Regions from separate parts of the Homo sapiens genome. Here regions 1 and 2 are each linked to region 3. The links are contacts of gene promoters, found by promoter capture Hi-C in human tissues and cell types (Jung and others, 2019). All regions are on one chromosome and are shown on one strand. The core of a region is centred on a gene start or on the middle of the fragment in contact, and the rest is flanking DNA. Distances in the headings are between cores, read along the strand shown.

Evidence for each region. The method cuts DNA at HindIII sites, captures the fragments that hold promoters and counts their contacts. A contact is called where the count stands out against the background at its distance.
Region 1: a contact is called between a fragment that was not itself captured here and the fragment with the promoter of OTOR in region 3, in 1 of the 25 tissues and cell types used here (pancreas).
Region 2: a fragment that was not itself captured here is called in contact with the fragment with the promoter of OTOR in region 3 in 2 of the 25 tissues and cell types used here (heart right ventricle and hippocampus).

The regions. Positions count from the first base shown.
Region 1 is chr20:16,511,476-16,515,277 of GRCh38, forward strand. KIF16B (kinesin family member 16B) reads right to left here. Exons shown (of 26, transcript NM_024704.5): 5 at 1,351-1,448; 6 at 1-52. Among named protein-coding and RNA genes, the nearest start is that of KIF16B, 60 kb to the right of the region's middle. The HindIII fragment of the contact is 3,147 bases long and covers 31-3,177 here.
Region 2 is chr20:16,549,593-16,553,317 of GRCh38, forward strand. All of the region lies in intron 1 of KIF16B (kinesin family member 16B), which reads right to left. Among named protein-coding and RNA genes, the nearest start is that of KIF16B, 22 kb to the right of the region's middle. The HindIII fragment of the contact is 5,263 bases long and covers 1-3,725 here.
Region 3 is chr20:16,746,189-16,749,793 of GRCh38, forward strand. OTOR (otoraplin) reads left to right here and starts at 2,170. Exons shown (of 4, transcript NM_020157.4): 1 at 2,170-2,328; 2 at 2,679-2,818. The coding sequence starts at 2,214. The HindIII fragment of the contact is 9,309 bases long and covers 1-3,605 here.

The DNA of each region.
Region 1 (3,802 bases), core at 354-2,853, 240 kb before region 3:
TGACTTCCGCCGAAGTAGATCTCTCACACGTTCGTTATAAATTTCTAAGTAGCTAAAAATTTAAAATAAAATTGAATTCAGAAAAATGATTTCAGACATTAATATCAGTAACAACACATAACAGCAGCAACCTGCTGACATAAATGGCCACAGCAGCAGTTACCATTTATGAGTGGTGACTGTGTATCAGGTACAATGAGTCCTCACTTAAGGTCATTGACAGGTTCTTGGAAAGTGCAACTTTAAGGGAAAGGACATACAGTGGGTCCTCAAATAACAATGCTTCCTTCAACATCATATTGCTATAATGTTGACGAGAAAAAGAACTGGTTTCATTATATGTTGTTTCACTTAAAGTCACGATTTCCAAGACTGTATCAAGAAGCGACATTAGGCCAGGGGTGGTGGCTCACGTCTGTAATACACTTTGGGAGGCCGAGGCAGATGGATCACTTGAGGTCAGGAGTTCAAGACCAGCCTGACCAACACGGTGAAACCCCACATCTACTAAAAATATAAAAATTAGCTGGGTGTGGTAGCGGACACCTGTAATCCCAGCTACTCAGGAGGCTGATGCAGGAGAATCACTTGAACCTGGGAGGTGGAGGTTGCAATGAGCCAAGAGTGTGCCACTGCACCCCAGCCTGGGTGACAGAGTAAGACTCCATCTCCAAAAAAAAAAAGGAAGGTACATTAAGTGAGGACTTCCTGTACCATGCTAAGTACTAGACATGGATTATTTCATTGAATCTCCACAATACCCAGAGATAGGTACCACTACTATCCTCATTTTATAGGTTAGGCAAGGGAGGTTTAGTGTGATTCAAATAACTTGTCCAAGACCACAAAGCAGTCAAGTAGGTGTAAAAATCCTATATTGCCATGTCTGCCCTTGAAACTACCGAAGAGACTGGCTCCCCTCACAGGTTTAATTTCAAGGAGGAAAAAGCACCTCAACCACTCAGATTTACTTGTAGATTAGATTTATAATGATCCAACCAACACAAAGAATAATATAAACCTTACTAAGCTAAAAGAATGAAGCAAGTAATTGGTATACACTTAAAAGTCAGAAGCTCACTCCATTTGAGATGAACATCCCACATTAGTTTCTGCCCAAGCTGTTATTTCTGCCAGCTCCCAAATCTTTATCCAAACTGTACCCAAGAAAATCACTAAAAACTTATGTGTTTTAAGCTTTATCCCCAAACCATAATCACAGGAGGGGAAAAGGGAAGACTTTTTCTTTAGGAATCTAAAGACCTTATCCATTTCCAGCACCTAAATGCAGGCCAACCAGCATTGACTCTAATCAAGCTCACACACAGTTACCCAGGCCACAGGCCCTACCTGACTTCAGTTCGAAAAGAAGCTTCATCCCATCTGGTGGTTTCATTTATCCGACTGAAGAGTCCTTCACAGATCCGAGGTATTAAGCCAGAATCTCCCTGCATGGGAAAGACCAATGTCACAGCTGTCACTCAAAATAAAAGCAACTGATGACTGAATTTGCAATTTGCTGGCATGAAGTTAGACTCAAGTGACCTGTATGCCAACCCCTGGCCTACCACAGCCCACGCCATATACCCCCTCCAGGGCTGCTTTCTACTCTCTGAAATGAGATGATTGAGCCTTCTGATTTATACAGGCTGGGACTCTGATAATATACGGTTATCAGTTGTTAGTTAAATCATGGCTTACAAACAAGGAAACTTAATTTCTAACATTTAAATAAGACAGTTTATAACTGTACAATAAATGTTAAAAATACATGCTCAAATGAACAAGGTAGGTGAAATACACACCAGGCAAAAAAACACCAAGAAAAACTTAGCAATCCCCACGGTAGTTAATAATTGCCTTAAAAACTTAGGTAACAAGACCACATTAAAATCCATGCTGGCCGGGTGCGGTGGTTCACACTTGTAATCCCAGCACTTTGGGAGGCCGAGGCGGGTGGATCACCTGAGGTCAGGAGTTTGAGACCAGCCTGGCCAACATGGTGAAACTGTGTCTCTACTAAAAACCCAAAAAGTTAGCTGAGTGTGGTGGCACATGCCTGTAATCCCAGCTACTGGGTAGGCTGAGGCAGGAGAATCGCTTGAACCTGGGAGGCAGAGGTTGCAGTGAGCCAAGATTGCGCCATTGCATTCCAGCCTAGGCAACAAGAGCAAAACTACGTTTAAAAAAAAAAAAAAAAAAAAAAAACCACATGCTATGTCCCTCCTTTGACAGAGTAACCCCTACCCTGGCCTTCCTCGATGGAAAATTTTAATACACCATATTATTTATACAATGTGGGTATAACGTTCAATAATGTTCATGTTTCAGTCAACCTTAAAAAGCTGATGAACCTCAGAATATAGTAAAAATCAGGCAAAATGATCTTGCTAGGAAACCAAGGCAGAGCATCAATGCTTTATTCACATGTTCCCTCCCTACCTTCACTCAACCCCCACACCCAAAAAAATAAAAGAAAGCATGACTGTGTTCAGAGATTGTTTTTTCTTTGTACCATTAAATCAGTACTAATTCTTAACAAGGAAAAATGAGTCTTACGTCGTATTTTTGGTTCTTACTTTAAAATGAAGAAAGGATACCCAAGCAGCACTCAACTATAAGATTGGAGAAAAACACTTGTAATTTGTGAGTGCTTTATAAATGTTTGACTTACATAAAATAGTTACTAGGGAATCAACATACAAATTTCACTTTTGGAAGTTTTGTTTTTTTTTTCCAAAGGCACAGTAGGAAAGGAGGAAGTGAGAAGTAATGATAAAAGGAAATGTGAAACTCTCGAAATTAGCTGTTTGTTCCTCTCATTTGTTCTTCCCTTTTCGGAGAAGACTTCCCGAACAGCACTTACTGACTTCTTGTGTAAAGGAAGAGCCTGGATGTAAGCAGTGAGGTTACATGTCCTGAAATAATTTATTCTGGAAAGATCTGTCTTCTAACACACGACTTCCATGAACCTCCAAACCTTCAGCATTACAGACACCACATGTGTGCCAGCAGGAAGCCCTCAATCATCTTCCACTAGTGTCTCTACATCTCAAAAATGCCACAGGTTTGGCAGGCAATGAACAGAGCTCTCACTAAGAAATAAGAAAAAAAAAAAAAAAAAAAAAAAACAGGCCAGGCACAGTGGCTCACGCCTGTAATCCCAGCACTTTGGGAGGCCGAGGCAGGCGGGTCATCTAAGGTCAGAAGTTCGAGACCAGCCTCGCCAACATGGTGAAACCCCGTCTCTACTAAAAATACAAAAATTAGCAGGGCGTGGTGGTGCACACCTGTAATCTACTTGGGAGGCTGAGGCAGGAGAATCACTTGAAACCAGGAGGCAGAGCTTGCAGCGAGCTGAGATCGCACCACTGCCCTCTAGCCTGGGCGACGGAGTGAGATTCCATCTCAAAAAAAAAAAAAAAAAAAAAAAAAAAAAGAAAACAGAAGAATGATCTAAATCTGGAGAAAACACAGAACAAGAAAGTTCTTGCAATAATTCCTAGTTTTTACTCCTCTGTATTTTGGGGCAAGTATAACATTAATATCAGTTAACTTACATAGCTTATAAAACTGCATACGGTGTGTTTATAAATATGTAAATTATATAAACTATATAATTCTAACTTTTTAATGTATTTTCAGGATTTATGTAGTACCTTTCTATCAAAGAGTTAGAATTTTTTTTACATTTTTCTTGGGGAAAAATGTTTTGAATAATTTTAAAAAGAACAGACTTCAGTAATTTTATTCAAACTGTTGTGTTGGCAGAAAAGAAGAATAAATTACTTACGGGCCCAAC
Region 2 (3,725 bases), core at 629-3,128, 200 kb before region 3:
ACTATACTACAAGGCTACAGTAACCAAAACAGCATGGTACTGGTACCAAAACAGAGATATAGATCAATGGAACAGAACAGAGCCCTCAGAAATAACGCCGCATACCTACAACTATCTGATCTTTGACAAACCTGAGAAAAACAAGCAATGGGGAAAGGATTCCCTATTTAATAAATGGTGCTGGGAAAACTGGCTAGCCATATGTAGGAAGCTGAAACTGGATCCCTTCCTTACACCTTATACAAAAATCAATTCAAGATGGATTAAAGATTTAAACGTTAGACCTAAAACCATAAAAACCCTAGAAGAAAACCTAGGCATTACCATTCAGGACATAGGCATGGGCAAGGACTTCATGTCCAAAACACCAAAAGCAATGGCAACAAAAGACAAAATTGACAAATGGGATCTAATTAAACTAAAGAGCTTCTGCACAGCAAAAGAAACTACCATCAGAGTAAACAGGCAACCTACAAAATGGGAGAAAATTTTCGCAACCTACTCATCTGACAAAGGGCTAATATCCAGAATCTACAATGAACTCAAACAAATTTACAAGAAAAAAACAAACAACCCCATCAAAAAGTGGGCGAAGGACATGAACAGACACTTCTCAAAAGAAGACATTTATGCAGCCAAAAAACACATGAAAAAATGCTCATCATCACTGGCCATCAGAGAAATGCAAATCAAAACCACTATGAGATACCATCTCACACCAGTTAGAATGGCAGTCATTAAAAAGTCAGGAAACAACAGGTGCTGGAGAGGATGTGGAGAAATAGGAACACTATTACACTGTTGGTGGGACTGTAAACTAGTTCAACCATTGTGGAAGTCAGTGTGGCGATTCCTCAGGGATCTAGATCTAGAACTAGAAATATCATTTTCGTTTTTTTTCCCCCTAGAGAGCTTGTTAAAACACATGAAACATTCTTTTTTTTTTTTTTTTTTTTTTTGACACAGGGTTCACTCAGTCACCCAGGCTGGAGTGCAGTGGTGCGATCAGAGCTCACTGTAGCCTCAACCTCCCTAAGCTCAGATGATCCTCCCACCTCAGCCTCCCAAGTAGCTAAGACTACAGGTACATGCCACCATGTCCAGCTAATTTTTTCTATTTTTTGTAGAGACGGGTTTTCACCACATTGCTCAGGCTGGACTCAAACTCCTGGGTTCAAGTGATCCACCATGACCTCCCAAAGTCCTGGGATTACAGGCATGAGCCACCACGCCTGGCCGAAACATGCATTCTAAACTAGAAGTTTTAAAATAGCATCCCAGGGCTAGAACGGGTGTTCTAAAACATTTTTAATTAGTTGCCAACATATTTAAAATAATATTTTACATGAGAGCCTGGATTTCCCACTTCTCTCAAAACACAGGAATGAAAATGCTGGCTGATGTGATGAAAATAATCAAGCTTACTTTGAACAAAACATGATTTAACCCAGCTAGGAGCACATTAGGTTTGACTGTCCAGGTTTTCTAATTTCTTATTTAGGATTTAGTGAAGAAACCACCAGTGAGGGGCTTTCTCTTCTTTTTTTTTTTTTTTTGAGATGCAGTTTTGCTCTTGTTGCCTAGGCTGGAGTGCAATGGCACGATCTCAGCTCACTGCAACCTCCGCCTCCTGGTTCAAGCAATTCTCCTGCCTCAGCCTCCTAAGTAGCGGAGATTACAGGCACTCGCCACCATGCCCGGCTAGTTTTGTATTTTTAGTAGAGATGGGGTTTCACCATGTTGGTCAAGCTGGTCTCAGTCTCCTGACCTCAGGTGATCTCCCGCCTCAGCCTCCCAAAGTGCTGGGATTACAGGCATGAGCCACTGTGCCTGGCCGAGGCGCTTTCTCTCTCCTTTCCTCCTGTCTTTCCAGTGTGGGCCGCATCTCTCCAGCTTTCATTCCTTCTGACTCCTTGCTGGTGCCTGTACCTCCCAAGGCCCTAAAGGTGTGCAACTTTTGAAGAATGAGGCTGCCAATCCCTGGAGCTGTAAAGCAGGGACAATAATAGCAGGTTCTTATCATTGAAGAATTCATCCCAGAATCCTTGAAATCGAATACACTACCACAGTTTGCAGACAGAAATGAAAGAAATAACCTTGTCCTTAAGCCAGAAGGGCTTGAGGTAAGAAAGCCCTCTGATATCATCAGTGTTCCTTGCAATCAAGCATAGACAGAGAGCAACACAGGCCTGGCCTCATTTCTGTGGCTCAGCTGACCAAACAGTCTGTGCCCAAGAAAGCAGGCCCCCCTCCCACGACAGCTACAGGAGGGCAAAGGAAGGCTCAAGTTGCACCTGGTGGGACAGTTACACCTCTAATTTAGACATCATTTCAAAGAAGGAGGGTGGGCGTGGGGGCGCGGAGCTAACATATAATGTAATGCTACCCACTGTCTGAGGCCAAGAGGGCTCATCTTGAGATAACGTGATGACATCAAATGAGCAGTTCTACTTCTGTTTTACTCACGTCCTCAACTCTCAAGCATCACTCTTCCACTCTTTTGTGATTAATCATGCCTTTTAATTCAGCCTTGTCTCTCCTGCACATGGACACTTCCTCTGAGTCCCCCTTAGGTTTCATGGCTCTGTCTGCATTTTCAAAGCTTGACAAACCCAGCTCAGCACTTGAAATAGGAAGCTCCCTAACACAAGGAAGCCTTTAGCTTCCTATAAGTCATACAGAGAAGGGAATTGAGAACAGCTACATGTGCCTCTGAAAATAAACAAGTGGATAAAATCATATCACGCTGAAGCCAGAGAACTCAAACTGCTGGTATCATCCCAGCATATGCAATATTAACACGCAGCCATTATGAGCTTCGTTGAGGTTTTCAGGTGAGGCCTCTGGGCCTCCCACATGCTGCTCCATCCACCACTACACCTGTTGTCCCAGGCTAGTCTCCACTTCAGGTCTGTCTCTCCAAGTACCCTTCCTGATGCCACAAGTCTGTTAGACCCAACCCCCCACCATGGGCTTCCACAGCACCACAGCATCCAGTACAACAAAGGCAAGAACTGTGCCTAGCTTGGAGACCACTGTATCCTGACACGCAGCCCAGAGGTTTTTAAAGGTCTTGGGGGGCTCTGCAAGGTTAAAATTATTTTCATTATGACACCAGCATATTATTTGTCTTTTTCACACTCACATTTCTGATAGCTAAGGAAATATGTGCTTATATATTCCTATGTTTTAACTTTCTATTTTAATTTATTATTTTTTTTTAAGACAGAGTGCAGTGGTGTGATCTTGGCTCCCTGCAACCTTCTGGGTTCAAGCAATTCTCCTGCCTCAGCCTCCTGAGTAGCTGGGATTACAGGTGCCTGCCACTACACCCAGCTAATTTTTGTATTTTCAGTAGAGACAGGGTTTCATCGTGTTGGTCAGGCTGGTCTCGAACTCCTGACCTCAAGTGATCCACCCACCTCGGCCTCCCAAAGTGCTGGGATTACAGGCATGAGCCACCGTACCCGGCCTCTATTTTAATTTCTAATGTGGCCTCCCACCTCTCCAGTCTCCACTCTCACCACCCATCTGAAGTTTCAGCCATTTCGTGAGACTTTGTAGCTCACAGTCATACTCCAGAGCCTGGGGTCTCTGTACGCTTTCTGCTTAAAATGCTACTGCCAGCCTTGTCTGTTGGCTGACTCATCCTGCCAGGGAGCCCTGCCCTCAGTGCTGATGTCCTCTAGGGTGTTTCTCCAGCCCTCCCAAGGAGCTCTACTCAA
Region 3 (3,605 bases), core at 920-3,419:
TCATTTTATCCTGCTTTTGGGGATCTGTATATGCTCCCCAATGGGGAGTTTTTGCAGTCCCCATTTCTTCAAGTGCCTCTTAAATGACAATTGTCTTTTAACTCTCCTATGCTGAGGGCTGGTTTGAGACTGGAACAGTCCATAAAACAGCTGCGCAATCAGGATTAAGAAGATTTAATCAATGCTTTAGTTTTCCCAGAAATTTAGACCTTTAGATTGATTACAGGGGAAAAATTGGAAAGGCATTCTGCTTTCAAAAATAATATCGAATTCAATCTTTCCTTGATGTGAAACAGGAAATAAATGATTTATTCTAATTTGTCAATTCCAAGTTGACAACAATGAATTGAAATAGCATTGAACCATGATCCCTCTGGTAACCTTTAGATAGGATGGTTCAAAATGACCACTTTAGGACAGGTGCGGTGGCTCATGCCTGTAATCCCAGCATTCTGGGAGGCTGAGGAGGGCGGATCACTTGAGGTCAGGAGTTTGAGACCAGGCTGGCCAATATGGTGAAACCCCGTCTCTACTAAAAATACAAAAATTAGCTGGGCATGGTGGTGCACACCTGCCAGCCCAGCTACTTGGGAGGCTGAGGCAGCAGAATTGCTTGAACCCTGGAGACAGAGGGTGCAGTGAGCCGAGATTGCACCAGTGCACTCCATCCTGGGTGACAGAGCAATACTCCATCTCGGAAAAAAAAAAAAAAAAAAAAAGCAACAAAAAACAAAAAGACCACTCTGGCATTTGCTGTGCCTCAGTTTCCTTGTCTATAATGAAGGTATGAATAAAACAGACTTTCCAATCAGGACCAGCTATATAAAAGATCCTCCCTTGAAAGTCACACACACATACACACACAGCCACACACACACACTCACACACAGCCACACATACCCACACCCATACCCACACCAAAACTCTTTTACATACACACACAGATGCACTCAAACCAATACAACTCTATCACACACACACATATACCCAAAACAAAAAACCTTTTTATTATATTTTGCCTTACCCATTTATCCCTTGGGAAATTGTATTGCACAAAATTATTTAGTAAGTTAAATTCTTGTCCCTCATTTTATGAGGTTACGACTTTGGGGTTGGGGGAGAAGGCACTGCTCCGAAGTCACATCATCAACCAAGGTGGAGAAGGCATCCTGAGAGGATCTCTATTCTAGAAGCAATGGATAAGAACAGGGGAAGGGCCACCTTATGGGAGAGATGCCAGCCTCAAACACCCTATAAAAAGCAGTAACTTACTGTCTGTCTCTTCTAATAGAAAGCAACACTTGGGGCCAAAATATTTTTTTTAAATTTACTGCTATATCTTTAGTGCCCAGAACTATACCTGGCACAGTAAGTGCTCAGTAAATATTTGCTGAATAGACGGAGCTAGGGACTGGCGGTTCCACTTTGGTGCCTCTAGGAGTGCTCCTCTCCCCATGGGAAACATGCTCAGAAGCAGGAAGTTCCAGGTAACATAAACTTGTAACTTCACTCTCTTCTCTTTGACCTGTCACCCTTGAGCATTTGAGACTGAATTGCAAAAGTCTTAGAGAGAAGAGGTAGGGGAAAGATTGACCTATTTTTCCCAACCCACCCATCTCTTTCCCCACTGGTAGGGTCTAAATGGGGCATCAATTAGTATGTTAGAATTCATCTCTAGCCTGGGACAGGCATGCCTTCTAAGAATCCTATCATGAAAGATTTGTAAGCATAAGAATCTTTCATTTATCTATTACGTAAATCCAGATTTATTAATTGAATTTGTTTAAATCAAATTATTTGTGCTATAGATCTCACATTTTCAACAAATTCCTACAACTAGTATGTCTTTGCTCATAAGCTGAAGGAAAATTAGGGGTGAATTAAAACTAAAAATGGTTTGAAATTCTCATAGTCCTCTCAGCAAAGCCCTACTGATTGATACAATAGACCACTGCTAAAGCGGCTTTAACAATAGTGGACCATTTTGGATATTATCTGTGTATAGAAAGACACAGAGTTTGACTCTGTTTGGAAAATCAGACGCTAAATAGCCCCTGAAGCCGAGCAGCCTGTTATGAAAACGGAGGGGTGGTAGGCCCTTCTAATTGGCCAGGGTATTTACCCAGAGCTCTGGCTTTCACATAAAAGGCAGGAACCACTGAAGTCAGTCCCCGCTTCCAGTCAGAGTTCAAGTTAAAACAGAAAAAAGGAAGATGGCAAGAATATTGTTACTTTTCCTCCCGGGTCTTGTGGCTGTATGTGCTGTGCATGGAATATTTATGGACCGTCTAGCTTCCAAGAAGCTCTGTGCAGATGATGAGTGTGTCTGTAAGGACTTTTTTATGCTTTTCATTATCTTTCTATTACATAATTGAAAATATATCCACTAATAGCATAAAATCGAATTATACTTTGAAGTGAATCTTCTCCAATGTGTATGTTATCAGCTTTGTTTCTTCTGGTCTGCATGTTTGGTATCTTACTACGGAGAATTCACTTGGCTGAGTTTTGTTGCAGCTTTAATATCTTGGCTGTCTTCTTTCTCTTGGATAGACACCAGCTATGAACTGGGAATTATCAGTCACTCTGATTTTCTAGTTTTTCTAATATACATTGCCTTTTACTGTTATAAAATTCAGGAGCCTAAAATGTAATCATTTAAATTTTTTTTCTTCCAGATACTATTTCTCTGGCTAGTGCTCAAGAAGATTATAATGCCCCGGACTGTAGATTCATTAACGTTAAAAAAGGGCAGCAGATCTATGTGTACTCAAAGCTGGTAAAAGAAAATGGAGCTGGAGAATTTTGGGCTGGCAGTGTAAGATAATTTAAACACCTATTGACGAATATTGCTCTTAACCTTTCCTTGATTACCTACCTTCAACCTATTTTAATGCTTAATACTAGTTGTTAAGAACCATGTAGTGATTGTAGATGGAAATGCAAAAATTCAGGTATATTTGCTATTGCATTTTAAAGAAAGAAAGATCAATTTCGTAACAAAACCAAATGTAGGTTAATGTGATATTTTGGTAAAAAAAGAGTCAAATACATGGGGGCTTAAACATCCCAAAGAATTTGAATCTTATCCGAAAACGTCTGAGAAGATTTGCCAAGTAGAAGGCATGTGTGTTGGCAGTGAGTCTAAGTATCAATATTCTTTTAGGAAACTTTGCACCCTAATTAATTCGAAAGAATCAGCGTTCTTCAGTTAAAATATACAGGGGCGGTCCCTGGGGAGGGATGAAGCAGGGATGATTTTCTGTCCTCATCTGCAACCCTAAAGGTAAGTTCTAAATTAATGAAGGATTAAATTTAAAGCCATTTAAGTCTGTTCATTTGAATTGTTGAAAACTGAGAAATTTGCATCATTTAAAATAAGTGTCTACAGTACTTTAAAAAAATGTACTGTCTTTATATATTTATTTATGGGTTCAAAAAAGATTTCAGGCAACTCACAAGATTGCGTAAAATAAAGTCATGCTAAAGTAGCGAAATAAGACTGGGCCACTAAACAGTAGATGCACAATTCCTGCGGGTTAACTTAGTGCTCCAAGTAAACTTCGGATTTGCCGCAGCGCCCCCTGGACCCCGGAGTGAAAGGG